Linked DNA regions of Homo sapiens: region 2 is linked to region 1. The links are contacts of gene promoters, found by promoter capture Hi-C in blood cells and fetal thymus (Javierre and others, 2016). All regions are on one chromosome and are shown on one strand. The core of a region is centred on a gene start or on the middle of the fragment in contact, and the rest is flanking DNA. Distances in the headings are between cores, read along the strand shown.

Region 1 (3,079 bases), core at 302-2,801:
TTCGTTTAATACTACAGTATCGCACAATTATAAATGTGTGGGTATTTCAAAAGGTGGTCCAAAAGGTGGACTGGGAGAGAGGATTAAGAATAAACTTCCTGACAATGACTGGACAGACACAATGGACATTCGATGAAGTTCTGAAAAAGGACTGGAGAACCCATTAGGGGCAAAAGAACAACGAACAAAGAGGACCTACTAATATTTCTACATAAACCCATTTATTTAAAACGGAAAAAAAGAAAGCAACAGGATCTTCAACCTTCATAACTCAAAAAACCCAGCCTCAGCCGAGCGCCTGGAATAGGTTAAGATCCCCCACGAAGTACAGACCAGCATTCCGAGCCTGCAGAGTCAACCAAAATACAGTTACTGAACACTATTGGAAATAACTTTATTTCAACAGGTCTTCCCATTTGTCATCACGGTGCGCACAAACTGTAAAGTCATCGTTTTTACAAACGGGGGGACGGAGGCTCGGGCTCTACAAAGGCTCGAACTCTCAGAGTCGTGGCCTCCTGGTTCTATCCATCAGAACCCACGGGTGATGGAGCCAGAGAAAGGTTACAGGAACTTCGAGATCTCCTGTTTTAAGTCTGAGGAAAGGGAGGGAGTGAGGATTTTCTGGGCCTCCCCAGAAGACGACGAGGAGGAAAAGCCCCGAAACCCCTCACTACGAGGTGCCGGCCTACGGGAAAGAAACCCGATCGCAGCATGGGAGCCTGCCACCGCCCGAAGACGAACTGCAGTGATTCCCACTCACCCCTCTCCCCCCACCATCATCCACGACTGTCCCCCACCTCAGGCCTGAGGAAGCCCATCGCTCTCAAAGGTCCTCCTTTGTGAGACTCCACGGCCGCCGCCCCACACGGGGCCTCCGGGGAAAAGCCACCGCCCCCACCCGCCATATTTCCCTGAAAGGCGCCCGCGCTACAGCTCCCGGTCTTCGCTCTCTCCCATGTGGCGGGTGCTGCTTCCCCCGTCACCCCACCCAATTGTTCTCCACATCCCAAGGCCGTCCCAGAAGCTCCCATGAGGGTGGCTCGTTCGGAGACAGCACCCGCCATCTCCTCCCCCTCCCCCGCCCCGGGACTCGCCCTCCCCCCAGCCGCCATTTTACAACCAACTCCTCCACCCCGTCGCCCCGGCCTCCCGGCCCGCGAGTTGTTTGCAGTTAAGGACGGCGAAGGGGTCACATTCCAGGGCATAGAGCCTCCCATCGCCCCGGGAGCTCCCAGGCCATTTCCTGCTTCCCGAACCCAAGCCCCCGGGCCAGGCTCGCAGACGATGCCGCCATTTTGTCTCCTGTTCCCGGCCTCTGTGGGCGGCGGCAGAGGGTCCGAGAATTCCAGCCCCCCGTTGCCCCCCCAACTCACCGTCGTATCGCTCAGCCTGCTCGGCCAGCTTCGCCTGGTACACCAGATCCTCTCGATCATCCATAGCGGCAGCGGCTCCGGCAGGGTCTGCGCGACGGATGGAAGCGGATAGTGTCTCCGACTCTCTCAGCCTCTCGCTCCGCGTCCGGGCAGCAAAAATGGCGGCGCCTCAATCCGGGACTTCCGCCTGCGCACGCGGACAACTGCTCAGCTCTATGGCAACCGCTCCCTGGCAACTGGCGCGGGGGGCGGGTCCTGGAACTCGGCGCCCGAAGCGGCTGGAACGAGCGCACGAGACGCCTCTCCTCTGTCGGCTCAGCGGGCGCCGGAGCCCAGAGGCGGGAACTGCGACTGCCGAAAGGGAGCGGCCCCCGGGGAACGAGAAGGGCTGAGGCGGGGCCGGCCGGGACTGCTCCTGAAAAAAGCCAGCGAGAGACCTGGGTCAGACCGGGGCCCGAGGCCCGACCTGCGGAAAAGAACGACGGAGGCTGTAACGGTTTCTGTCATGGCAGGTCTTCTTTCCCGAAATCTGAGGCTGTCACTACCGCGCCCTGGTTTTCTTTTCTTTTTTCTTTTTTCTTTTTTCTTTTTGAGACGGAGTTTCCCTCTTGTTCCCCAGGCTGGAGTGCAGTGGTGCGATCTCGGGTTACCACAACGTCCGCCTTCCCGGGTTCAAGTGATTCTGCTGCCTCAGCCTCTCGAGTAGCTGGGATTTCAGGCCCCCGCCACCACCCCCAGCTTTTGTATTTTTAATAGAGATGGGGTTTCACCATGTTGGCCAGGCTGGTCTCGAACTCCCGACCTCAGATGATCCGCCCCCCCTCGGCCTCCCAAAGCGCTGGGATTCCAGGGGTGAGCCACCGCGCCCAGCCCACGTCCTAGTTTTCTCGGCCAAGCCTGGTCATGGGCCTTTTTCAGACACTTTTAGACTCAGGGTAACGAACCGGGCCCTGGCCGGGCGCGGCGGCTCATGCCTGTCATCCCAGCACTTTGGGAGGCCAAGGCGGGAGGATCACAAGGTCAGGAGTTCGAGACCAGCCTGGCCAATATAGTGAAACCCCGTCTCTACTAAAAATACAAAAAATTAGCTTGGCATGGTGGTGCATGCCTGTCATCCCAGCTACTCAGGAGGCTGAGGCAGGAGAATCTCTTGAACCCGGGAGGCGGAGGTTACAGTGAGCCGAGATCCTCCCATTGCACTCCAGCCCAGGCGACAGTGTGAGACTGTGTTTCAAAAGAAAAATTATATATATATACAAAAATTAGCTGGGCGTGGTGGTGCATGCCTGTAATCCCAGCTACTCCAGAGGCTGAGGCAGGAGAATCGCTTGAACCCGGGAGTGGGAGGGTGCAGTGAACCGAGAGCACACCATTGCACTCCAGCCTGGGCAACAAGAGCACAACTCTGTCTCAAAACAAAGAAAAAGAAAAAAAACGAACTGGGCCCTGTTACAGTTGTCAGGGACAGGGGAGCTCCAGTTTTCACGCCTCAACTTTCCCCTCACACTGATCTTTGTCTTCTCCTGTTTAACCTTTTTCCCTCCCTAGGCCCACTATGAATAGGAGCAGGGAATTTGTTAGATGAGGGTGGTGTGGAGTACATGGTACAGAAGAGTTGGACCAAGATCAAATAAAGATTGTGGAGGCAGGAATAACTCAGTGAACATTGCTTCAGCTTCTGGCGCTTGGGAGGCCCATGCGGA
Region 2 (3,079 bases), core at 308-2,807, 160 kb after region 1:
GAGGATTCAGACCCAAACAAGAGGCCCTGGGGACTTAAATTTCTGTGGACCCAACCTCCCAACAACAGCCCTCCAGGGGAAGGGCCAGGAAGGGACCAAGCCCCTTGAAGCCTAAGAACACACACCGGGCATCTCTGCTCGGGGCTGGATATTACAATCCAAGCTGCTACCACAAAGCCACCAAGAGGGCATTCAACTTATGTCCTGACCTCCAGGAGCTGTCCAAAGGAATCCCAATTTATCATTTTCTTTTCTTCTTCTCCAACTCAATGACCACCAATTGCTGGAGATGCCACCAGCAACCTATTGGAGAAGCCGTGGCCGGCAAAGTCTCCGCCAGGGCCAGAACCCCACAGAGGTGCCAGGGCTAGCAGCACTTCTCCAGGTGCCGTGCATGTGAAATGCAGACCAAGAGCCACCCCCAGTTCAAAGCTGTGAGGCGGGAGAGCTAAGACAAAAACTCTTGGTTTTACCCATACAAGTCCAGCCAGTTTCCAAGCTTAGACGTTCGGTCCCCAGACCCTTGCTGGAGCCCTCTGGGTCCTTTTGTGTCTTGCATGTTTAGTGAAGCATTAGGGAAGCATGAGCTGCTGTGCCTTCCTTATGCAGCCGGCTCACCACTCAGGCTCCTTGCTCCAGGCTAGTAAACAGCTATTTTCTAGTTCCACAAAGGTCCCCCAGGAAGCAAGAAGGACACAGAGGGGTCTGAGGAAAACATCACCTCAAAGGCAAGACACCAAGCAGGAAAGTAGCAGGAAAAACAAAATGGGCTCCAAGTCTTTACTGCCTGCTAACAACTCCCTTCCTCCAGAGCAACTCAAACAACATAAATCCTCCAGTTTACTGAATGCTGCCAGTGAGCCTCCCCTCCCATTACAGAAAGCCAGTGGTGCAGAAAAATACTCCCAACTTGGAGGCCAGAATTTCTGCACCCTCAGAAGAAACTTCCTAGAAAACAATAAGCCTTTTATCTTCAAGAACAGCAGTCAAAATCACATCCAAGATTTTGCAGAAATCAAATTAAACAGAATCCTGTTAGAGGAAGTGTTGGAAAAATCAACAGGGGCAACCTGCAGACGCTGGGTGGGAACCAAGTCTCACCCCAAAAGAGAATGCCATGGGCCAATTCCTGACGGGATGCGCTGAGGCTGCTGACGTGACGGCTGCACACTCTGACACTGCCCCCTTGCTCCTTAGGAACAAAACCACTTCGGCAGCAATAGGGTACAATTCCAAAGGACAGGGCCACAGAGGAACTGCCGGGCTGGGCCTGGAGCGGCACTCACTCTAATGTGACCTTCACTCGCACCCTTTCCAGGGCTGCAACGCTGCGGCCACAGCCAGTGTCTCGGATGCCCTGATGCCCCTGCTCCTCCCCCGTCCCCCGCCCAGGGATGCACACACGGGGCACGAGTCGGGCAGGAAGGAAACGCAGATACCAGGCAGGCCCTGCATCTCCGGCACCTTGGACTTTTCCCTTGCAGGCTTCAAGGGGAGGAGAACAAAGACAGGGAAGGAGTGCCTCTCTTCAAACCTCACTCAGATCTCCTCTGAAGGTCCCTTCCTTTCCCTGCCTGACCTTCATTTCAAAACCACAGATTTCTACAGATTCTAGGGTTCATTTGGGAACAGGAAAAAGAATCAGAAGGATGGGAAAAGCCTGTCAGTCTGGACACTGAAGATTAAAATCTAAAGTGCACCACGTTCTCCTGTTGGCATCGTAAAGTTCTTCCTCCTCACCAGGAAAAGCTCCGAGCCCTGGCTGAATTAACATCAGACTGGATGTCAAGAAACAGAGGGGATGAGGCCTCAAAATAATGCTCTTCAGATGAGGTGTTTAGCTGGGATGACATGTGGGTCTCAGCTCCCTCTGTTACCCAAACTCCACTCTATGTCCTAAATGTCCTAAGCACCTCCAAGGAGCCAGCCTGGTGGGGATGGTCAAAGTGCGATCGCTGACAAAGTGGCAAGAGCTCTCTGCACACCTGCCTGGCTGCCTCACAAGTTGCTCTCTGTTTGACCATCTCCCACTCCTGGGGCTTCTGGCCCTCCCTCCAGGAAAGCAGTTTCACTGTAAATTCTGTGCACACACGCACACGCACACACACACACACACCCATCCTATCTCTCCTCTTTGGGGAGAAAAATGTCCTGTGATGCTTACTTGGAACCCTGAGCTTCAACGATGGCTCATCTTGTACTTGAAAGATTTAGCACACCAAACATCTCCACCTGTCCCCCAGTCCCCTGGATTTCAGGAGCAAACCCGTCATCCTGCAACTCCTTCCAGAAGTCACCAGTTTCCCACGCACCCCTCTTCACTACTCAAGAGCTCCCCACCCCTTCCACCATCTCTCCTCAGTTCACGGCTCCATGGACCCCTCAATTCCTCAAAGAATTTCCCCATCTCTTTGCACCAAGACTGAGAATCCCCTAGAAACAAGCTGGCCCTGCCCTGGTCTCCCCCATCTCCAACGGCAGGTATACTCATCCCAACATACTCTCTTTCCGGACCAGCCTCGACCCCGGTAACTTCCCGGCCTTCTCCACTTCGGACCCTACCCAACATTTTCTGGCCTCCTCGCCCAAGTCTCCCCACGTCCCAAGCAGTCATCCCAAGCTTGTTCCAAAAGCCTCCTCTTCCGCACCAGCTGCTTGGGCACCACGGTTACTCCGGCCCGCATCTCAGCCCCCTCTGCATGTCCTCAGACCCTTCACCTGTCTCCCCAGCCAGGCCCTGACTTCCTAGTCCTCCTCCTGTGTCCACTTACCACCACCCCTCACCCGATGCCTAAGGCGGCCACTCCTCCCCATCCCCATCCCAACTCCATCGCGGAGCCTCTGACCCATCCACCCGGCTCTCCGTGTGAACTGTTCGGCCCTCCACCTTTCCCCACCGCCGGGAGGCCCTGCCTGCCCCGGTGCGCCTCTTCCTCGGCCGCCGCGGGGCCTCTCAGCGCCGCCTGCAGTCCCGGCTGAGCCCGCGCCCTCGGCCCGCGCAGAGCGACCCCACAGCACTCCCAGCGCTCGGCGTCCCCTCGGCCTCCCCCAGTCCCGGGCCAGCTCTCCCTGCCCTGAC

Evidence for each region. Contacts are between HindIII fragments. The CHiCAGO score rates a contact against its expected background, and 5 or more counts as called.
Region 2: a contact is called between a fragment that was not itself captured here and the fragment with the promoter of YWHAE in region 1, in 4 of 17 cell types (naive B cells, naive CD4 T cells, neutrophils and 1 more). The highest score is 7.1, in naive B cells.

What each region holds. Positions count from the first base shown.
Region 1 is chr17:1,398,671-1,401,749 of GRCh38, forward strand. YWHAE (tyrosine 3-monooxygenase/tryptophan 5-monooxygenase activation protein epsilon) reads right to left here and starts at 1,552. Exons shown (of 6, transcript NM_006761.5): 1 at 1,377-1,552. The coding sequence starts at 1,440. RefSeq lists enhancers at 137-774, 775-1,412, 1,413-2,050, 2,993-3,079. The HindIII fragment of the contact is 7,246 bases long and covers 1-3,079 here.
Region 2 is chr17:1,559,035-1,562,113 of GRCh38, forward strand. The region is part of intron 1 of PITPNA (phosphatidylinositol transfer protein alpha); the gene reads right to left. Among named protein-coding and RNA genes, the nearest start is that of PITPNA, 2.2 kb to the right of the region's middle. RefSeq lists enhancers at 830-1,796, 2,711-2,810 and a silencer at 2,921-3,050. The HindIII fragment of the contact is 2,121 bases long and covers 498-2,618 here.